Linked DNA regions of Homo sapiens: all the other regions are linked to region 6. Evidence: promoter capture Hi-C in 16 types of primary human blood cells and fetal thymus (Javierre and others, 2016). All regions are on one chromosome and are shown on one strand. Each heading gives the region's core, a stretch centred on a gene start or on the middle of the fragment in contact. The rest is flanking DNA. Distances are from core to core; before and after follow the strand shown.

Evidence for each region. Contacts are between HindIII fragments. The CHiCAGO score rates a contact against its expected background, and 5 or more counts as called.
Region 1: a contact is called between the fragment with the promoter of LCE4A here and the fragment with the promoter of LELP1 in region 6, in 5 of 17 cell types (M0 macrophages, endothelial precursors, M2 macrophages and 2 more). The highest score is 8.7, in M0 macrophages.
Region 2: a fragment that was not itself captured here is called in contact with the fragment with the promoter of LELP1 in region 6 in 1 of 17 cell types (M1 macrophages); the score reaches 7.6 in M1 macrophages.
Region 3: a contact is called between the fragment with the promoter of LCE1D here and the fragment with the promoter of LELP1 in region 6, in 5 of 17 cell types (M2 macrophages, megakaryocytes, M1 macrophages and 2 more). The highest score is 7.0, in M2 macrophages.
Region 4: a fragment that was not itself captured here is called in contact with the fragment with the promoter of LELP1 in region 6 in 5 of 17 cell types (M2 macrophages, endothelial precursors, erythroblasts and 2 more); the score reaches 8.9 in M2 macrophages.
Region 5: the fragment with the promoter of SPRR5 here is called in contact with the fragment with the promoter of LELP1 in region 6 in 2 of 17 cell types (endothelial precursors and M1 macrophages); the score reaches 5.8 in endothelial precursors.
Region 7: a contact is called between a fragment that was not itself captured here and the fragment with the promoter of LELP1 in region 6, in 1 of 17 cell types (endothelial precursors). The highest score is 6.2, in endothelial precursors.

Annotation. Positions count from the first base shown.
Region 1 is chr1:152,706,371-152,709,467 of GRCh38, reverse strand. It overlaps LCE4A (late cornified envelope 4A), which reads right to left and starts at 1,308. Exons shown (of 2, transcript NM_001387222.1): 1 at 1,074-1,308; 2 at 34-413. The coding sequence starts at 392. The coding sequence ends at 93. The HindIII fragment of the contact is 2,492 bases long and covers 796-3,097 here.
Region 2 is chr1:152,819,057-152,822,286 of GRCh38, reverse strand. No RefSeq gene overlaps it. Among named protein-coding and RNA genes, the nearest start is that of LCE1A, 6.8 kb to the left of the region's middle. The HindIII fragment of the contact is 1,302 bases long and covers 1,123-2,424 here.
Region 3 is chr1:152,795,201-152,798,524 of GRCh38, reverse strand. LCE1D (late cornified envelope 1D) reads right to left here and starts at 1,804. Exons shown (of 2, transcript NM_178352.3): 1 at 1,754-1,804; 2 at 344-752. The coding sequence starts at 730. The coding sequence ends at 386. The HindIII fragment of the contact is 8,213 bases long and covers 325-3,324 here.
Region 4 is chr1:152,857,720-152,860,806 of GRCh38, reverse strand. LCE7A (late cornified envelope 7A) reads right to left here and starts at 811. Exons shown (of 2, transcript NM_001395990.1): 1 at 776-811; 2 at 1-130. The coding sequence starts at 109. The HindIII fragment of the contact is 4,401 bases long and covers 1-3,087 here.
Region 5 is chr1:152,945,846-152,949,146 of GRCh38, reverse strand. It overlaps SPRR5 (small proline rich protein 5), which reads right to left and starts at 1,941. Exons shown (of 2, transcript NM_001395435.1): 1 at 1,899-1,941; 2 at 1-610. The coding sequence starts at 592. The coding sequence ends at 266. It overlaps LINC01527 (long intergenic non-protein coding RNA 1527), which reads left to right. Exons shown (of 2, transcript NR_183723.1): 1 at 1-161. The HindIII fragment of the contact is 11,414 bases long and covers 1-3,301 here.
Region 6 is chr1:153,202,070-153,205,011 of GRCh38, reverse strand. It overlaps LELP1 (late cornified envelope like proline rich 1), which reads right to left and starts at 1,582. Exons shown (of 2, transcript NM_001010857.3): 1 at 1,481-1,582; 2 at 1-325. The coding sequence starts at 304. The coding sequence ends at 8. It also overlaps a transcript of SPRR2G not described here. The HindIII fragment of the contact is 8,615 bases long and covers 1-2,568 here.
Region 7 is chr1:152,837,110-152,840,214 of GRCh38, reverse strand. No RefSeq gene overlaps it. Among named protein-coding and RNA genes, the nearest start is that of LCE6A, 4.2 kb to the left of the region's middle. The HindIII fragment of the contact is 379 bases long and covers 1,526-1,904 here.

The DNA of each region.
Region 1 (3,097 bases), core at 59-2,558, 500 kb after region 6:
GAAAGGAAAGGCAAGAGAGTGAAGGAGGTAAAACACCAGGCTGCAATGGGTCCTTCGCCCACTAATTCCTTTGGTGCTGCTCCTGGTCCAGGTCAGCAACAGCCCCCTCCAGAGCAGCAGCCAGAACCCCCAGACTGCTGGCCACTGCCACTGCCATAGCAATTGGAGCTCTTGGGTCTGTGGCAGTGGGACCTATGGTGTCTGTGGTGGCTCAGGCAGCAGCCACCTCCCTCAGAGCTGCAGCAACCACAGCCCCCAGAGCTGGAGCCACAGCAGGAAGAGATTGGAGGTGGGCATGAGGATGCACACTTTGAGGGACATTTTGGGGGATACTTGGGGATAGGACACTTGGGAGGGGGCTGGCACTGCTGTTGGTTCTGCTGGCAGGACATCTTGGTGGGATTTCGATAAACCTGAATGACAAAATAGAAACATATACAGAAACTTAATATCAAGAGCCATTACATTTTTTTTTATTTTAAAATCCTCCCCCAAGGTGATGAAGAGGAATATCTAAAATATGGACATGTATAGAAACCTCTTTCAGACAAAGAGTATATCTTCATTACTTTTGTACCCCTAGAGCTTTCAAAAATTCTTAGTATTTGTTAGGTGGTTAATAAGTGACTTCTGAGCTAATAAAGCCAGCAAAATTTGAATGCCATCTCAAAGACATGTTAAATACATTGCAATTCTACCCACATGAATTTATCTAGAAATGGAATTCAGAAATTCGTAGAAAATCTGTTTAATAAATAATAATAAATTTGAGATCTGCACGGTTAGAGAAAAGCTTCCTTCAGAGCAATGGGCTTAGGACCAGCAGGCCAACCATTGGTAGGGATGTAGCAATCCCAGGTCATTCATCATCTTCCTGTCTGATCACAGGGATAATCCTTCCCAGGTTGGTTCCTGCTTTGTCCAGAGCCAACTACTACTTCTGGCCTTCTGGCCTTGTCCACCATGTCATCCTCCTCCTACTCCACGCTTCACTGTTCGACTTCCAGAATTACTCTCCATCTCCATCTTCATCCCGCTAGCGTCCCCCTCTGGATTCCTATAGAAACACTCACCGTGGGTTCAGACGCAGCAACAGATACGTCCCTTAGGAAGCAGAGCAGATGAGAAGCCAGCAGCAGGAACACACTTTGTATGGATCCTGGGGCTGGGCCTCGGATGAGCCATGCTAATGGCAGGAGCAGGACGTGGCTGTTGCACAAGTGTGGGGTCATGCCTGACATTCTCCTGCCTCCTGGTTTCATCTCTTCCTGAGCTGGATGATGAGCTTCCCAGATAGCCTCTTCGGCACTAGTGGGAGAGGGGGTGACTATATGAGACTTTCTGTAAATCAGACCCTTTTCCCAGGCTAAGGTCTCAATGTACAGCAAACAGAGGGGTTTAAGGCTATGGGTACTTACCTTTCAAGCCTCCCTCTGAACACGCTTTGCTCAGTCCCTCAGGAAGAACTTTGGCACCAAAGGCTCCAAGACTGCCCCACATTTAGCCCCTAACATATTCCAGCCAAATTTCAGCCAGAGGCTCTGGGCCTTTCCCAGGTCAGTCAATCCTGAGAGGCTGGTTTGGTGCCATAGGCCTCCTTACTCTTTTAGAGAGTATCTCCCATGCTTTTAGACCAGGCCAAGTCCCCAGTCCTAACTGTGGAGAGAGATGCCCCTCGGTCAGCCACTCTTCTCTTTAGAATTTCTCTTCTATGAACCCTTCAGCCTGGAATTCAAAGGCTATCATATTTGACTACTTCTATTTGGGTTACCAAGGAATGTGTCACCATCAAGGGGCCTTTTGAGTAGGAGTTTCTGAGTTTTTCTGTTGTGTGTTGTGTATGTGATTCTGCTGCATTTAAGTAGCTCATGAGCACAGATCAGAGACTTGAGACTTTTACCAATTCAGGAACCTTTTGTGGAAGTATCTGTCTGTCAACTACACACACACACACACACACAAGTTGCATTTATTGCAACCATTTTTTAAAAAAAGGACTGATTTTTTTTCTTCAACAAACATATAAGAAGATCATTATGAGGAAAATATTTTTCCCATCATAGAAAAAACTCTTCCCTTTTACCCATCAAAACACTCTAAACCAACAAGAAAAAGAAATTTGGTGTGTGTTGCTCTAATTCTCAAAAGGTTTATATAGGATACAACTCTTCATGCAACCCATTAAGATTGATTTATTTCTCCTTATGTATATCATATATGTTATACGTATATACACATATAATCACGAGGTACTTCTGGAAATACCTACTATGCAAAATAGATGTCTAACAATGACAAAAGTTAGCTGATATTAATGAACATGAAGACATTGATAATGATGACAAGGAAGATGACTAAACCCCCAGCCTATATTTCCTCTCTGTAAAGACAGAAATTACCTACTTTTATAGTAATTTCTGCTATTACTAACTCAGAAAATGAGTATTAGACAGCAGGAACGGAATTGTTGTGGAAGGCAGATTTTCTGGCAAGTATTATTGTAGGAATGTCCTCCCATTTTCCATCTCTCTCCCAATCCAGTGCCCCATGTTAATGGTGTTTCTGGCAAGCAAATCATCAGCTATAGAGGGATGTGGTAACAAGCAACAACCTACCACATTGAGCTCTTAATCTGTGACCAGCACTGCCTCAGTTATGTGAGAAATACAATGAATTAACCTTGTTCCTGTCCTCAGGACCTCAGAGTAGAACTGGAGAGAGAAACAGAAACACCTGAGAAGTTAGATAGTGATGCTGAACCTCAACACAAGAGAAACACGGTGTGATTAAAGGAAAATTTCAGGGTTGACACCAGTGGTCCTAGTAGGCAGTCCTAAAACAAAAGATGCCAGGACTCAACTGTAGACAAATTAATTCAGAATTTCTGGGAATAGGGCCCCAGCATTGGTGTTTTTTAAAAGGTCACAAGTTGAATGTGTTGCACAAACAGAGATGAAAGCTATTGGTGTAGCCCTACTCTGCACAATACAGTAGCCACTAACCACATGAGATGATAAAGCCCTTGAAATATAACTTGTCTGAATTGAGATGTGCCATAGCATGACACTGAGTTTGAAGACATAAAATTGTTTTAAAT
Region 2 (3,230 bases), core at 524-3,023, 380 kb after region 6:
CAAAGTCATGGAGTAGATCACTTTTAGAAAATTAAAAATACAAATTATAACTAATATAGAAATAAGTTATAAATAAAATATAGCTAAGTACAAATAAAGTATAGTTAAGTACAGAGGAATTGTTACATTTTTAACTTATAAATAAATTATAAGTTAAGGATAGATAAGCACAGGAAAGTATATGCATTGCACAGGAAGGAAAAACACAAAATACAGAATAATGAATATCTCTAGGTAGAAGGGATATATAAGGGGATGGTTTCAATCATATTTATGATTATTTATTTCTCAATATGAGTGGAAAATACATGCATGCAGTGTTTACCAGGAAATCCTTTTAAGTTTGTATCTGTGTAAAATATTTTATTTAAGAAATTTATACATATGTAAAATTTAACACATACTTATATAGTAAGGTATTACTCTATTATATTTCATATATATTAAAATATTTCAAAAAATTATTTTACTTAATTTTGTTTTCCTCTTCTCTAGCAAAATATTTAATTTAATATGCATGTATTTGTGCTTATTTTTCTTTATAATTTCTTTAATTGTTTTTATATTGAGAATGTTTTTCTCAATCCTGGGAGAAGATAAACATTTAGCTACAAGTACTTCTTTCTTTATAATTCGATTTCCTCAAAATATTTAATCCCATGGATTTTGTCTTGGCATCTAATACTAAATGAGGGTTTACGTTTTTTTTTCAGTTATCAAAATTCCCTAACTCCAGGTATTGAATAGCCATCTTTTCCCCATTGATAACCATCACCTGCATCATCATATTTTAATTCTTTGTGTATATATACATATATATAGAGAGAGATTTAATAGTATATATATGTATACATACATATGTGTATACATAGATACGTATATGTGTATATATACATACATATATGTGTGTGTGTATATATGTGTATATATATATATATATATATATACTATTACATTCTTTTTTTTTTTTTTAAATTTGCACCAGTCTCAAGGTTTGGGGTTTAATTATGTGAAAGTTACAGATAAGTATTTTATCAGAATGGGACTTGTGGTGGATAAGAAAAATCCTCTAGATTTCCGGCAAACAAAAGGAAGAAAGAGAATTTCCTAGGACTAGAAGCTTAGGATCCTGCCCTCTTTGTCCTTTCCCTGGGAGGAGCCTGCAGGTGAGTCCCTGATATGGGGGATATACAGAATGAGGACCCGACTCTTCCCTCAGGAAACATGGAGGAAATGAAACCAGTTTTGTCATCTAAGCAAAGATGAGTTTCTAGTTCCTCTGCAAGCATGGGTCAAATGATGCATGAGTGCTTTCTATGACCAGATGTTGATCACATTGTCAAGACCAACTGTTCTTAGCCATTTATCCACTGTCTAAGAGAAGATTCTGGAACCAAGGCTGAACTTCAAGAAATTCACCCTGGAGAGGCATCACTCACATCACAGATAGAGGGGAGACACTAAAATGCCCAAGAGTGGAGGAGTCAGAAATTGGATTCTGCTTCCTGGTTGCTCCAGTATCAGAAGGATATTGCGCCTACATGTCAGACTGAGCCTTTTCTTTGTTCTCCATTCAGAAAATACATTTAGAAAGCTGGAGAAGGACAGACATTAGGTGGGGAATGAGTAGAAGGACCAGGCTCCCTTTCTCTGGTATGGTGGGCCAGCCCACTGGAGCAGGGATATGGGCAAATATGCCATTCAGTCAAATTTGGGGCCGGGGAGAGTGGCTTGTGCCTGTAATCCCAGCACTTTGGCAGACCGAGGCAGGCAGACCTCTTGAGGCCAGGAGTTCGAGACCACCCTGGACAACAGGCAAAATCCTGTCTCTAAAAAAAAAAAAAAAATACAAAAATCAGCCTGGCATGGTGGTGTGCATCTGTAGTCCCAGTTACTCAGTAGGCTGAGGTGAGAGGATCACTTGAGCCTAGGAGGTTGAGGCTGCAGCGAGCCATGATTGCACCACTGCACTCCAGCCTGCACAACAAAGTGAGACTCTGTCTCAAAAAAAAAAAAAAAAAATCAATCAACCAACCAGTCAAATTTGGCGTTGATATTGTTTTTCTGACTGGATATTTCATTACTGAACTGAAACCAAGTTTGTAATTTTTTTGTTTTAGAAATGGGGTCTTGCTTTGTTGCCGCACCTGGTCTCAAACTCCTAGGTTCAAGTGATCCTCTCTCTCGGGCCTCCCGAAGTGCTGAGATTATAGGCAGGAGCCACTGCACTGGGCCCACGTTTGTGATTTCAAGTAACAAATCATTTTGCATTACTTTGAAAGAGCTGTAAAGTCAGTTGGCCTTTCAACTTGTCATTTAGGAAGGAAAACCATCCCACTGAGTAAAATTTTAAGGACAATTTTACTTTTAAAATTTTTAAATTTTTAAAAAGCTATAATTTTATTACATCCTCCAAGCTAAGCTTGCTCAATGTGAGGGTTGTAGACAGATTTTTTAACATCCACCAGCTTAAGAAAACACACAATCGGATAAGATTTCATAGAAGGATGACATTTGAGGTGAACCTTAAAAGAGGGACAGAATTACACAATGTCCAGATGGTGGGGAGAGATTTGGAGGAACTTCAGATAGAGGAAATAGCAAGTAATGCTGCTAATAGTAATAGTAAGTAATGATTACAGTAGTTAGTAGTGATACTAAGGGTAGCAGTAGTAGTAGTGGCAACACTTATAAAATATCAAGAGAAGCTACTCTTTATTGAAGACTTATAGTATTCTAGATACAGAGCTATGAATAGTAAATTCTACTTACAGCTTCTCAGAAAAAAAAGGATGAATATATACAAGTGTAAGTTATGAGTTGCTCAGTGCGGCAAGAACATGGGGTGTCATGGGAAGTATGAATGGTAAACCTTAGAAAAGAAGTTGGAAACAATTCCTGCTGAGTCTCAAATGTAATACTTAAGAAGCACATGCATTTTTCTATAGAAAGCCTCTGTTTTGAGGAAGTAGAGTGACAATTTCAGACATGTGGTATAGGGAATGTGTTCTGGAAAAAAGTGCAGAGAATTTAATGGAGATGGAAGAGGAAGAAAGAGACATTTAATGGAAGGTTAATACAAGTGCAATTTTTACACAAAGATATGCCTCGAACTAAACTGATTTCAGAAGTAGTTAGTGGGAAAACTGTATTTTCAAAATATATTTCTGTTTTTTGCTTTCTATTTTATTAATCTATTTTTCTTTTCTTTTTTCTTCCATATGCATGCA
Region 3 (3,324 bases), core at 555-3,054, 410 kb after region 6:
TTTTCCTCCTGACCCCTTCCCCATCCTCTGTCCACCAAGGCCTCAGCAGCCACCAGCAGACACAGGGGAGCAGAACAAGGATGACACAAACAGGAAAATCAAGCAGGCTGGTAGCAAATTGGGGAGCAGATTCTGGATTTTATTTCTTCAGTTCAGGCAGCACAGAATACAGTAGCGTGAGCTGGGGAGGAAGTAGGTGTGTGCTTTGGAGTTCCCAGGGCAGCCATGGATCTGCAGAAGAAAGTCTCTAAATGCCATTAAGGAGAAAGATTTTGGGTTTCCTGACACCAGAGCAGAGGGATTCTCCAGGCAAGACTTCAAGCTTTTGCTGGAACCTCTCAGCTATTCAGGCAGAATCAGAAGGAAGAGGAAGTCAAGGTCCACTTCAGCAGCAGCCTCCAGAGTGCTGGCTGCTGCCCCCACCGCAGCAGCTGGAGCCCCCCGAGGGCTGGCTGCAGCAGTCAGAGCTCTGGGGTCTGCGACGGTGGGACCTGTGGCGCCTGTGGTGGCTCAGGCAGCAGCCACCACCCCCAGAGCTGCAGCAGCCCCCAGAGTTGGAGCCACAGCCGCCCCCAGAGCTGGAGCCACAGCAGCCTCCGGAGCTGACACTGCAGCAGGAAGAGACTGGAGGGCACTTAGGGGGACATTTAGGGGCGGGGCACTTGGGAGTGCACTTGGGAGTGCACTTGGGAGGGGGCTGGCACTGCTGCTGGCTCTGCTGGCAGGACATCTCGGTGGTGGGTGTTCAGGAGCTGAGGGAGAGTCAAATAACAAGTCAGACCCAGGCAGAGGCCACCTCTGCCCCTGTGACACTCTTAGCACCTCTCAAGTTTAAAAGCATCATCTTCAGTAGTTTTATTTCCAATAATTTCCTCAAAATCTCACATCATCTTTTTCAAGATATCTTTGGATGTCAGACAACTGTAAACTAAGACTAAACAATATTGCAAAATGCATCTAAGATTCTGATGTGTTGTCAGTGGAGGAAGAAATTATTACAAATATATCTTAAGACTGAAATTGTCTAATTTATGAGTCATTTAAGAGAAAATTATTTTTAAAGGAGAAGAAGCAGTCATTCTCTCTGGTCATAATTTGCAAGACGATTTTACTTTGGAAGGTCAGCATTGTGCAGGATCTTGGAGACTACTAGGTCAGTAAACTCACTTCAATAGAGACAGATAAACTTAGCAGTTTCTGCAGACTAGTACTTGAACCCTGACCCCCTGATCTCAGGTTGGAGCTCAGACTTCCTCACTCACCACCTGCTCAGGCTGATGGGATGACACGGTGGGTCTCAGGCTTGGTGTGTCCTAACCAAGCTGGGAAGTTTGTGAACAAATCTCAGACCCATGAAAATGTGGGGTTCATAAACCCCAAAGAGTCTTTAGTCCCATGTCCACAGCTCCAGTTCTTCCCTTGCAGGCAGAGACAGGGTTGTATCTTCAGAGGTGGGCTTCCCTCCTGTGGGCTGCCAGAGTGGAGCAGGTCTCTGTGCTTCAAAGTTCCCACTCTGGAACACCCACCTCATCCCAGAGCAGTTTGTTTCCTCTAGAGTTCAAAGGCACATGGCACAGCCCGCCAGCTCTTTTCCTCTTTTCCTTCCTGCTCCCAGTTAGTGCCAGACCCCTTTTGGCCCCCGCCCCTTCAGTCTTTTCTAAACTCTCCACCTCTGACAACATGGCCCTAGCCCCGGAGGCCCTGCCCCTCCTTCCCTCCTGCTCTGTTCTGAGCATCCCTGCTCTGTTCTTACCGGAGTCACAGGCAGCACAGGGTTCTTTAGCACCTCAGGAGGTGAGTGGATGGGGTGGTCTGGCCCTGAGCCCTTTTATCCTGGCCTGGGCTCTGCCCCAGCTGTGAGACAGGGCCTGGGCATGAGAGGACCTTCCTTCTGACACCCACGTGGGTCTTGTGATGGTTGGTGACTGACAGCTCCTCACCTGCCTCTCTCCCCAGGCTCAAGGCAGCCACTCCCAGGTAGGAAAGTGCCTACTTGAAACGGGGTTCCAGGATGACTCCTACCATCACCTACCTCATTCACTTGAAGGCTGCTTGCCCTGAGAGCCTCTCAGTTCTCAGTCTTAGAACTTAGGACCTATCTCATTTCTGTCTCTTCCGAAGTACCTGATGCTCCGTGCAGCCTGGGTTGAAGTTGAAGTACTAATCCCTGAGGTTTCCATGCATGTTTATTTCTGTCCCTGTGCACCACCAAACTGTGTGGCTGTGGGTGCAGTGTAGACATCTACACAAGTAAAACCCTGGAAGTATAACCCGGCCCAGGACCAGGCCCTGCGAGATGGGACTGTTGAAACTATTTAGCCTGTACCATTTTTTAAACCATAAAGCTGGAAGATGAAAAAGAATTAGTTACAGAAGAATTAGTTGGTTGTGAAAGTCAATAAAGTAACACAAAAAAGAGAAAATGTGCCTGACAGAGAGACTGAAACATTGTAGGCTCTGAATAAGTGAAACATTCATAACTTGCTGAATACAGAATGAAGATACTGATCTTTGTTTAACAAACGAAGCACAGCTTTTTTCTAATGAGAGTGAGTCTGGCTGTTTGGTGATCTGTTTGCTTTTAAATAGCCCTTTTCTTCTGGTGGGGTCCTTGATGTGTCAGCACTGAGATGTGAACAAGGAAGCAGCTCATTAGAGAAACAAGAAGCAGCAGCTCTGCTCTTTGTATTGGTGTGAGAATTTGGACTTTTCTGGGTTCACACTGGGAGCACCGGATGATGGTCACAGATGAGAAACAGGAAGAAAAGAGACATGGTTGTGAGACATTATAAGTCTACGCTTCCATGTGGGGTCAAATGGCTGGCAGAACCCCGTCCTGGACCATAAGGGGACGGGTGCCTTTTAAGAACAAGAGTCCTTAATATTTAATGTGAATGTGTTTATGCTGCTACTTTGGAAGCCCCTCTCCTCTCTCTCCACTAGAATCACTAGCTTTCTACATGTCCACAGGATTTATATGAATGGAGTGTTCTGAATTTATACATTTTTAGGATATTAATGAAATGGGCTGCTGTTCATTCTAGGACACACTAGTCACTAAGACAGCCATGACTGCAAGGTTATCCACAAATTAAACTATTTCTTCAGAGGAAGACCAAGAAAAGCCAGATTAAACCATATGAGGGACAAGTCCTCTTCTTCCCAGCCCCTGACAGACTCTGGATATGCCCAGAACTTGGGAATGATATCTAGGTCAAAATGGACATGGTGACCCTAACCAAAACGTGGTGGAGATACATGTATATTTATAAACACATATACAGAGCATACATATTGAGAGAGATGTATATGTGTGTGTACCAC
Region 4 (3,087 bases), core at 529-3,028, 340 kb after region 6:
GGCATGGAGCTGGACATGAAGCAGGAGCCTGAGGGGTCCACTTGGATGGATATTTGGGGAGGCACTTGGCAGGGAGCTGCCATTTCTGCTGGTGTTTCTGATAGGACATCTTGGAGAAAGTCCAGTTACTCTAAAAAACAATGCAAACATTTCAAAAGTCTAATTAATGTAAACCTTGTTTGTATCAACATTTTTCTACAGAGCCCGAAATTCTACAGTTGAATATGTGGCTCCAGAAGCCACATCATAATAGCAGAGCAGCCCTGCTTTCCTGACATAGGAGAGATTCAGCAGTGAGTAAGTTAGAGTCTGGTGACATCTTCTCTTGTGCCTGGCCTGATTCTCTCAAGACTCCTGACTTCAAAGGCAGTTGCTTAGGGCACTATGTAGTCCCCCAAATCTTCACTTACTTATTATCCTATCTTCTAATTTATGCATTCTAAAAACCACATTTTTAACCTGAGTCTATGGTTACGTCACCTCTCATCATCATCTCCCTTTTTTTCTTTCTTGCATCATGAGCTGTACCTTTAGCCCTACTCTTCAGCCCTGCGTGGCTGTCTCTTGCCCTACAAACACTTGCACTGCCCCAGTCTCTGGTTAACTTCACTCCTTCTGGGTTTGCTGCTTCTGAACCACCTCGATGATTGCCATGAGCCTGGTCTTCCTGGAATTATCAATTTCCATTCTCTCCAACTTTGAATGGCTTTTCCAAAAGGAGGTGTAGCAGCCCTAGTCATCCCCAAACTGCCATCAGATCAGTAAAAACACTCACCTTGTCCTCTTAACCCTGGGCAAACGATGGGACTACGGATAGATACACTGTGAGCGGGAGCCTTTTATACACACACTGCATTCAACTAGAGAGAATGAGCCACAGATGATGTGAAAACTGTTTCCCAACCAGGTGGTTGTGATGTCAACTTCCCACATTCCAGTGGCTCTGTCATTCTGTCACTTTGTCACCCTGTGTCACTAACAGATCCCCCAGAGCATCCTTCCCCTTCATAAACTCTCACAGGATTTCCATAAAGATTAGAAGATCATGACTTAGAAGGGTATTTATAATGACATAGCTTGGGAATTGAAATTAGGGTTTCTGGAGGAATCCAAAACATGACTGGGCATCTAAAGTCACAGATGTTAGATCAACACAGGCACTGATCGGGGTTTCTGCAGGCATTATCAATAAGATGGGAACCAATAATCTAAGCACACATGGGCCAATACTGAGGGCTCAGTGTATTTGATTCAGATACCAAAGTGCCTAAAATATTGATCAACCATGTGGCATCATAGAAAGTCCCAGCTGCAAGCGGATTTAGGATACTTCCACTCTACGTAGGTCAGGAACATATGGCCAGAGGGGGCAATGGAGACCTCAAAGTTGTGCAGAGTCTGAACTAGAAACCATATCTTCTAACTCTCTGAGATCATCAATTCAGGCCCCCATTTCACAGCAGCCCCTTCTTTTGGATTTGCTTGGGTACATCCACTAGGATCTAGTCTCTCCCCTGCCCACAAGCTCCCTCCTTTTTTCATGCCACTCCCCACCCAGTTCACTTTTCTTAGTTCATTGTTTCAACTACTCTTTTGCCAATATAATAAACTTTCTTTTGTTACCCATTTGGCTTGTCACTGCATTTGACTGGCAAAGCCTTATCCCTGGCTGAATTCTCCCTGTTGTGCCTAGTTGCTATAAAAATGAAAACAAAAATAGACATTTTGGCAGGATGACACCATCATAAAATCACCATCATCCACCTTGGCTGGTCCAAAACATGGCTTGGTGATCCCCGTATACCTCCCTGTATTCACCATGCACATACCTCATGGCTTTTCTCCTCCCTTGAATCTTCCAAACCTTCACTACTGCCTCTAGATAGATGGTACTGCCTCTACCATATGGAGCAAAGAGTTCCTGTCAAACATAAAGCACTTCCGCTTCCTTCTCCTAAGTCTTCAAGCTCACTTACATCTGCAGCCATCCTTCATGACTTCCTGTGTTACAGGGGAGGAGTGGCCCCTTGTCTTTTCCAACACCTATCCCTAGCCCTTTTCTCTGGATCCTTGCACCTTCAATCTCAATTGTATTGTTTCTCCTATGAAATGCTCCCATGGCACCTTGTATTTCTGGTAACACTTGCTTGTATTTGTTTTTCAATATCTGTCGTCCTGGATAGAATGAAATCTCAGTGTTCATGGGTTCACTCTTTATCTCCAGCACCTACACAGAATCTGACATAATGTAAGTGCTCAAAAGTATTTGTTTAATGAGTTAATGGGTGATCTGTGGTTGAGGCAAAGGTCTCCCCTCCTTTCACTCCTTGAGAGAGAGTAGCCTGGGAGGCCAGGTCAGTGGCAGGCCTGTGGGGCAGGTGTGGGAAGCTGCTCCAGGGATGGAGTCAGCAGCAGGAGCTTTGCACTGTGAGTCAGTGCTCTGGTCCCTGCTCTGCTGCTCTTTCTGGGTTTCAGGAGAGGCTGGACCAGATTATCTTAGGTATATCTTCAAGTAGGTATTTTTATTTATGAGCCTCAGAACTCCACGGAGCTTACACTCAGCACAGGTCTGATCTTGTCCCTGAATATATTTTATCTGGGATTGGAAGTGGCAGTGAACTTGATGAAGAGGGTGGAGATGATGGCTGGAATGTTGACTATGCCAGGGTGTGAGATAGTTGAAAGTAAGTCACATTATGAGGGAGGAACTCCATACAGTCTATTCAGTTTCTCCCACTTATCAGAGGAAATGACTTAACATCTTGCCTTGTTGTGCCAAAGCAGAGTATAGTGTATATATGTGGTTCTCTTCTGGTTGTGCCTCTTCTGGCTCTTCTTCTGAGCCACTGAAGCCCAGATCTGTAGAGATAGGCAAAATGATGCTCTTTCCCTGTGATATTTCTGACAAAAAGTATTACAAGTATATTTAAAAAGGTTGGAAAACACCATTTTATTGTGTTGGTCTAATACCCATCAATGACCTTCTGGTTCAATAATGAAGAATTATTTATGTCCACAGAAACTCCTTTTTTGTAGTAACTTTTCAAATGCTACTTTAAAGATGTTAATTCATTTGTTGAGTGCCTG
Region 5 (3,301 bases), core at 692-3,191, 260 kb after region 6:
CATGTCAGGAAAGATGATTAGATAGTTTAGAACCAGATCCTTGTCTGAGATGGAAACTGCAGCTGCTAATTAAGAAGAGTAGAGCTCGAGGAAGCCGCCAGCTGCCAGCCTGGTGCTGCCTCTCCTGCAAGTGTGAAGTGTGGCTGCATCCAGAAGCACTGGTGAGCAGGGCTTTGCTTGGCCTGTGGAGTGTAAGATGCTGGCCCAGAAGGAACTTCATGCTCTGTTTTTCCTGGGGGTTCGCCTCTGATCACATGCCCAGGGCTTACTTCTGCTTGGACGTCTGGCACTGCTGAGGGGGTGGGCACTTGGGGGCACAGGGCTCCTGGCACTTGGGTGGGGGCTGGCAAGGCTGCTTGGTCTGTTGGGGTGGGGGGCAGTACTGCTGAGGTGGAGGGCAGCACTGCTGGGGTGGGGGACAGCACTGCTGGGGAGGGGGGCAGCATTGTTGAGGCGGCGGGCAGCACTGCTGGGGTGGGGGGCAGCACTGTTGAGGCGGGGGGCAGCACTGCTGGGGTGGGGGGCAGCGCTGCTGGGGTGGGGGGCAGCACTGCTGCGGGGGAGCACACTGCTTCTGCTTCTGCTGAGACATTCTGGGCTGGACTTGCAACTGGAAACAGAAAGACACAGAAATGAGGAACACTTGAGCCATAGAGAGACCCTAAGCCCAGGTGAACCCCCTGCCACATTCCTGTCCTGCTCTGCTTTTACCTTGCCCTGATCCCTTCACAGATTTAAGAGGAGTGTGTGTGTGTGTGTGCGCGCGCGCATGTGTAAACTTTAAGTGTTTACAAGTTATTTCAACTCTTTTCAAGACAAAGAAACATGGAAGGAAGGAAAGATAGGAAAGGAGGAAGGGAGGGAAAACAGAAATGTTAGGAGGGGTTGAAAAGAAAGAAAAACATAAAAAAAGAAAAGGGAGAGAGAGGAAAAAAAAGAGGAAGAATGAAAGAGCAGACTGTTGTATCCTATTATAGCAAAACCTGTGGCATCTGGAATAAATTGCCTGGGATCTGAGTTCTGGCTAAATCATTTATTAACTATATGATTTTGAGCAACTAAGGTTTTCCATACTTACCTCTCTTAGAGTTGGTGCAAAAATTAAATGAGTATATAAAATACATACTTAAAATATGCATGCATACGTAGGTATGTATGTACCGACACACACATGCAGAGTAGTAGCACAAAATGAACACTATATAAGAGTTGTAATTTGTTAAGTAAATTCATAAACAATTTAAAAGGCGCATCTTAACCACTCTCTAAAGGAGTTTATAAAGAGAAAACTCTAGAGATAGATGAAATGGACTATCTAGCTTGCCTCTCTCAATTACAGTTGAGGAAAGCAAACCTCAGAGGGAAGGAATGGCTTCAAAGCCACTCGGCATAGATGGTGGGAAAAGAGGTCTCCTGATTCCCAGAGCAGAGCCTTCCATGGTGCCACATCGTCTTGTCCCTGCAGCCCTTTGCTCCATGGACATCCACAACTCTGCTGTCCCAAGGGAGTCTGTTCTCTTTCCTTCCTGCCTTCTCTTTTCTTTGAAAGGACAGTCCTTCCAGTTGCTCTGCCCAGAACTGGTCTCTCCTCTCCTACTAATTCCCTCTTAGCACCTGACAAGATGCAACACCCACACCATGCCAGCAGCATCGCTGAGATACTGACCCTCTTGTAGATACCCCCCTCCTTCTCCCTGCTCAGCCCAGCCTCCCACACTACTCTGCTGGATAACTTGCTGGACCCAAGATAGGTTTGTCACAAATGATATGGAAAAAAGAGGTACCCCAAAAGACCCATCCTTTCTGACCACCACCCAGAGAATCAGCCCAGTCCATAGTTGGTTAGGGATGCAGGCAAGGCAAGGCTGCTATAAGAGGTACTACCTTTCCAGACTTACCAAGGTTCACCAGCGACTGGAGCAGATAGGTGTGGAGGGGTTTGGGATGCTCTGAGCCTATCTACCTTTTATATACCTCTCATCCCTGCCTGAGGCCATGAGGTGGCCCAGGATTGGGGTGTCCTAATTAGTCCCTAGTCACAATAGGATCCACCTGTCCTTCCTCAAATTTTAAGTTTTACTCACCCCCAGGGCTGGTATGGCGGGATTTGGAGATGACAGTGCCTTCACCCTCCCCTTGCCTCATCTCCCCATCATTTTACGAGGACTGGCTTCCTTGGATTTCCAAACCCACTCATGACTTTTGACTTAGATCCCTGGCATCTAGGATGGTCCCAAGCAAGCATTCCGACCATGCTGGGTGTGGGGGTGTGAGGGCAGTGTTCTGGGATGTTCTGGTTGGCAGAGAGGAGGGGATGGGACAGGCAGCTTATGCAGGTAACATAAGAAAACAGCTGAGGGGGCAGATGGCTCTCTTGGAAACCCACCACCCTCAGCAAAGTTGTGACTTTGACTTGACCTAGGCTCAGAGTCACATTCAGCTTGAACTGGTGGGAAGACAAGACAAGAGGCTTTCATTTTTTACCTATTGTTATTTATACAAGAAATGGCAGCTGCCACTCTCTGTCTGTTCTGCTATTGGGAAAATCGTTAGGCCCCATTCGGGGAAACTGGTTGGTTACAGTAGATAGTGCTTATCTCTAAATCTCCCTACATATATCACATATCCATATGACTCCAGGGTTCCCAGGGAAATGATTATCATAAGGTGGAGGGGGTGGGGGAAGCTAAGAAGCATTGCATTAGAGTGAGCTCATGGAGGAGTCACAGTGACTGGATTCTGGGTTCTGAGCTCCTGGGGCCCCAGTCCTGGCTCTTCCTCCTAACTTCTGTTAGAAGTTCCAGGACAAAGAAGGGTGGCACGGGATACAGACTTGGATGCTTCCCATACCTGGCAAAGGATGGAGCTCATCTTTAAAAAATTCCCAAGTGGTGCTCAGACTGAGGCTCTGCCTTTTACCAGTTGGGTGACCTTAGGAACCAGATGTTTTTGCACTTCAATTTTCTCACCTGCTAAAGAGGGTAACAGCACCATTCTGCATGTCAGTTGTAAGGATTAAAATGGACAACTTATTTAAAGTATGTGCAAGTGTTTGGCACAAAATGCATGGTCAACAGTCGTTGGGTGCTCCATGGAGATGGGCTTTGAATACTAGGGCAAGACACACTCTTAGAAATATGGAATAGGAAGTTGAAAAAAGTTGGAGGCAAGTAGTGGCACTTGCCACCCAGTGTCATAAGCTCTTGGTTGAAAGAGACAGGAGGAATAAGTTCAAGGAATCCACTGGAAGTCATGTTGACTATAGTTAATAACAATATGTGACATGAAAATTGCTAAATGA
Region 6 (2,942 bases), core at 333-2,832:
CAGTGCCTCACTCTGGGGGAGGGCAGGGAGGTGGGCAAGCATGTGGGCAGGATGAAGGGCATTTAGGAGGACAGGGCTTGGTGCAGGGCTGGGGAGGGCAGGATGAAGGAGACTGCGAGGGGCAGGGCAGGCACTTGGGTGGTGCTGGACACTTTTCCCATGGGCACTTTTCGAAACAGCGTTGCAGCAGCTTCTTTAAACAGCTGGGCTGGCATTTGGACTCACACTTTTGTTCACACTTGGGATCGCAGTTCTTGGGCTCAGTCTTGGGGTCATTTGATTTACTTTTATCATCACTCGACATTGTTTCTTGATTATCTGAGCCCTGCAAAGAAATATGAGATGCATTGTAGGTGGGAGAGGATACCTACAGGCTTCTTACAGCTTATCCTTGTACTTAAGAAAGTCTTCCCTGAGATGCATTCAGGCTCTAGATCATCTTCTCATTTAGGGCCGCCCTCATCCTTGTATGAGTTTGAGATAGCATTTCTTAATCTCTCCACCCTTAACTCTGCTTCCTTTTCACTTATTCTTGCTTCCATGCTATAGACTCTAGTAGGAGTTCTTAACCTATGGTTTTGGACCCCCCACCTCCCCCACCCCACTGAAACTGTATTTCAGTAGAGTTGGTGTCTCTGTAACTCCATATGTTGTATTTAATTCATTTAGAAACATGATTCCAAGGAGTCCCTAAGTTTGACCAGATTGCTCAAGGCATTCATGGCACAATAGAAGTTTCGCTCCTCTAAGGCCACTTCCTGTTCCTCTGAAGATAGATGGGAGGTACACTAGCAGACTTGGGGGCCTAGGACACTGCTTTCAATCCTGTGTCCCACCTAAGTTCCCTGAACCTTGAGAATTGCTTTCTTTACTAGAGGCCATGGGAGGGAAAGTAATTTAATCCCTGCCATGAGTGGGTTCCCATGGGCTACTCTAGAACTGCCCACTCCTTTGTCTCCATCCAGGTTCTGATAAATAATAGGGTAAGGGAAGAAATCAGGAGATGAACCACGAAATTCCAATTTCTCTGAAAATCTGAATGATAGAGCCACAAAATGTGATTTTCAGAAGGGAATTCCTTTTCTCTCCTGTTGAGTTTTGCCCTGAGCTAGGCATTTCTGCACGGACAGTTTAACTCCTAGATATGGACAGGGATTTTCAGTCCCTCACAATACTTCAAGTTGGATCTAATTGGTTATATTTCTTTGATTTCTTTTAACAATATAAAAATAACATTTTAAATTTTGTTTTAAAATCAGTATAGCTCTCTGGGGAGGCATATTATTAAGTTGAACTCTAAAATTGTTGAGACTCTATTCCAAGGTGAAGCACACACCAGTTCTTACCACTGAAAATAACAGGAAACTTTCATTCAAACATGACTTTCCCAACCCTGCTCAGTGCGTGGGGTACTTCAGGTCACTCCCAGGGTAGAAGAGGCCAAAGAGTGGCCACTTCCACCTGTCCAAATGCAACTTACCCCTCTGTGTTGGTGGTGAACTTGACAAGCAGTTGAGTGAGGTGGATGTTATGGCTGTGCCTGGGAAGGTGGCTTTTCCCTTTGGTTCCTCTGCCCAGATCTGAGGAAGCTGGGGGTGGGGGCAGGGGAAATGACCTCCACTTATGAGGTCATTGCAGCATCATCGAGGGGCAATTGTTGTGTGACTCCATAGCTCCCAGCACAACAAGCCCTGAACACCAGAATAGAGCCATGATGAATCACCCCCCTTGGCTGTCCCACCCCTCCCTAGACCCCTCAACATTCAGGCTGGTAAAATGAGGCTGCAGTGAAGAGTCCTGGGCTCTGAGGATGGGAGGCTCATTGTTGCTGGGAGCAGAAAAGCTGGCCCACTGTTGACACATGGTCTCCAGCTCCTCTTCCACCCTCAAAGTTTAATTCCTCTGAACCTGCTCCTTCCCCACCCTTCTAGGAGAGCAACCCTGAATTGATCACTGCCATTTTGACATTCTTCTTTTCTTTATTTTTCTAATGTGAGATTCTGAAACCTCTTCTTACCACCCCACACAATTGGGTTAGCCCCAGATCCTGCCTTAGGGCACAAAGATTTGCCTCTCAGAATTCCTTCCTTGCCTTTTTTAAAGGCCTGACCAGGGTCTTTGTGGTTGGAATGGGGGTGTGTTAGGAGTGGCGATGGGAGGCTGGAGTGCGAAAGGTGGGTAGGCTTAGACACAGGGTGCCTGAACTCAGGTTTAGGAGGTTCATCGTGGCAGTCATCACGAATGAATCTCTAGTGACTTTTGATTAAAATTGTGACATGATTATGCCTAAGGTATTTAAATATTAGGATGGATTGGGAGATGGGGTGGTGAAGTAAAAGTCGAATGAGACTGTTTTAAAGAAATTATGAAAATCTCCACATCTGAAGGAAGGCAGTCATGGGTCTGGGTGCCCATGAGAAAGACCTCATTAGACAGGTAGATTCATGGGACTTATTTACTGACTGTGCAGAAAATTAAGAATTGAAGATGACTCCAGAGCAAAAGGGCTTCTTCCTAGTGTACTAGAAGGCAATACGATGACACCAGGTTTTTGAGAAAAGAAAAGCTTTTTACTGCAACTAGACCATCAAAGAGACAAGAGTTTAGCTTGAATCTGTCTCCCTGTGCTGGCTTTAAGGCAGTCATTTTATTGGGAAAGGTTAGGGATTAGATTCTGGTATTAGTAGGTGACTGGTGGAAGGAAAAGGGAGGGCTGGAAAAAGTCCTCGGGCATGGGAAGTTATCTCTTCATGCTACCTCATGGGTCACATGTGCAGTTTCGGGGAGGGTCAGTATGAAACATGCAGTGGAAATTTGGCTGTGACATCAGCACGCTTTTTCTGTGCAGACTCCAGTCTGCCAGATTGGCTCCAATGACTTCAGCCAATTTTGTTATCTTACAAATGGAGAGAGTTTCAGCATTTCAGCAAGTTGTTCTTTTT
Region 7 (3,105 bases), core at 466-2,965, 360 kb after region 6:
CTCTTTTATTTTGCTTTATGTTTTTAATGAATAATTGCCCTGACTGTTAAGTGTTCATTCAGAACACTCTGATGTCTTCCGGATAAATCTAAATTCCTTTAGCCAGCATTCAAGTCCCTGTGTATACTCGAACCTATCCCATCGCTTTATGCTTAACTTCTGGAACTTCCTTTCATTATGTCTCCTCCTCTGCTGAATGGATGGATTTATTGTATGGTGAACTGGCTTTTATCCTGTCTGATGTCCGTCTGTCTCTACCTCTCTTTCTTCCTCCCTTTTCCACTCTATCTCTTTGTCTTCCTCTTATTTCCTCAGCCTGCCTGCCTTCCTTCTTCCTCTCTTTTTTTCTTTCTTCCTTCCTTCTTTTTTCTTTCTTTCTTTCTTTCCTTTCCTTTCTTTCTTTCTTCCTTTCTTTTTTCTTTTCTTTCTTTTTCTTTTTCTTTTTGTCTTTCTTTGTGTCTTACTTCTTGTCTTTCTTGGTTCCTCTTCTGAGACTACTTCCGAGGGCCAGTTCAAATCCCGTGTTCTCTGTAATGAATTTCTAGACAATGCCTGGCTGAGAAAATCTTTCAGAGCATTTATTACTTGTTATACATATAATTTATTATCATAAACAATTGTACTTGTATGTGATATTGTTAATGCCTTGAACATGGGGCTATTATCTGTATATCTCAAGCCCCATTTCAGTGTACACAATGGTTCATTACAGTTACTAGTTATTAGGTTTGTTAATTATTAAGTTTTTAAAAATCCCCATCACAGATGTTTGCAAAGAACTTTAGTTTACAGAATGCTTTTCAAATATTATGTCCTGAGTCAATTAATTCTGATGAAATACAGACTCAGGCCATGATGAAATCAGACACTTACAGTGAGTTTGGGATTGTCCACATCACACTGTGGGCACCTCAACTATATTTCCTGAACACTATTATATTTTTACTTAGACTGTGCCAAAGAGTTTAGTTTGAGGGGAGTGTTCATGTCCTTTGTAGGGACATGGATGAAATTGGAAATCATCATTCTCAGTAAACTATCGCAAGAACAAAAAAACCAAACACCGCATATTCTCACTCATAGGTGAGAATTGAACAATGAGATCACATGGACACAGGAAGGGGAATATCACACTCTGGGGACTGTGGTGGGGGGGGAGGGGGGAGGGATAGCATTGGGAGATATACCTAATGCTAGATGACGAGTTAGTGGGTGCAGCGCACCAGCATGGCACATGTATACATACGTAACTAACCTGCACAATGTGCACATGTACCCTAAAACTTAAAGTATAATAAAAAAATAAATAAATAAATAAATAAATAAAAGAAATCTATATCATGTTTTCTACAGGTACTTCTTATTTTAGAACCCAGCCCTGCTCATGTTTTCTTAGGAAGAAAGGCCAAGAGATCTGGTCCTACCTCTTTCCTCCAGGTAGGATGGTATCCAAACCACCAATTATCCTGACTTGTACTCAAGACTATAATATCATCAGAACTGGCTTGTTAATCTAGGCCAAGCTTGTTCAACTCCTGTGGGCCCCATGTGACCCAGGACGGCTTTGAATGTGACCCATCACAAATTTGTAAACCTTCTTAAAACATGAAATTTTTTGTGATTTTTTTTAGACCATCATCTATTGTTAGTATTATTGTGTGGCCCAAGTATTAATAGTATTTTATGTGTGGCCCAAGACAATTTTTCTTCTTCCAATGTGGACCAAGGAAGCCAAAAGATTGGATGCCCCTGATGTAGACCATTGGATATAAGTGGTTTAGTTTCCATTTCAATAGAATAAATTGTCATTGGCAAAAGAAGAGCTTAGTGTAGTGTTTTCTTCATCAGACGAGTAAGTCTCTTTTTTCCCTTTCTCATCATCCAAAGAAAGAGAAAAGAAAGCTTCTAAGATTTAGAAGAAAATAATTAAAACTGTGTCCACAGCAGGAAGGGGAACATCACACACCGGGCCTGTTGTGGGGTGGGGGAAGTGGGGAGGGAAAGCATTAGGAGATATACCTAATGTAAATGATGAGTTAATGGGTGCAGCACACCGACATGGCACATATATACATATGTAACAAACCTGCACATTGTGCACATGTACCCTAGAACTTAAAGTATAAAAAAAAAAAGAATTAAAAATAAATAAATAAATACAAAAAAACTGTGTCCACAGCTTAGGTTGTTCACAACTCTATGTTAAAAAAACTTTTAAAGACTAAATTATAAAAGAAATCTATAAATACATAAAATCTCAATTCAGAGTATTTTCTAAAAAGCCTTATGGAAAACCTAAGACAAATTAAATAAAAATCCCTTTAGGGAGGACTTTCAGAACAGTGGCATGAAGAACTCCTTGGACCCTTCTCCTAGCAAAATAATTAAGACTTGAAAAAAAAGTTTTGCAATCATCCTTTGCAAATTGTCCTAAGGGTATAGAGCAAATTAAAAAACTTTTATTCAAGAAAATCTACTAAATCATAGTAACAATAACAATAGTCTGTGGCACTTGAATCACAACTTGCACCCTCCCTAATCTCTTCCAGTTGGGCATGATGCTAGCTCCACTCTTGGAAGATGCAATCAATGAGATAAGGTTCCATCCCCCTTTAGCTCCAAATCATGGCCTCCAGTGTCTTCCTGTGAGGGGGAGGCTGCCAACATTTCTTACACCTCTTCCCTTAGTTCTGTGGTATAGAGGCTAAATTCCAGGAGGGGGACTCTAAGAGATTGGGGGCTTTCTTACTCCCCATCTCCCACTCATGGGGCAGGCAGTCACTCTACCTCAGGTGCAGCAGGGCAAGAATATTGGGACACCAAAGTCCTTTGTCCCAGCTCACTTGTAGGGTGGAGGATCGATGGTGGGAGAAACAATCCAAGAAGAATAGTGGTTGCCACCCCATTAAAGTGTTCTGCTCATTAATCAGCAGTGAGCTCCAGGAGACATTTGCCCTCAGCTCAAAAGCAGTGGCTAAGAGAATTTGTCCAGGGAAGAGGATGTCCAGAAAACCCAGAGAACTCCAAAGTTCTCACCAAAGGAACTGACTATATTTGGAAAAGAGTGTGGGGACGTTCAAGCTTAAAGGCACTTTGGTAAATGGG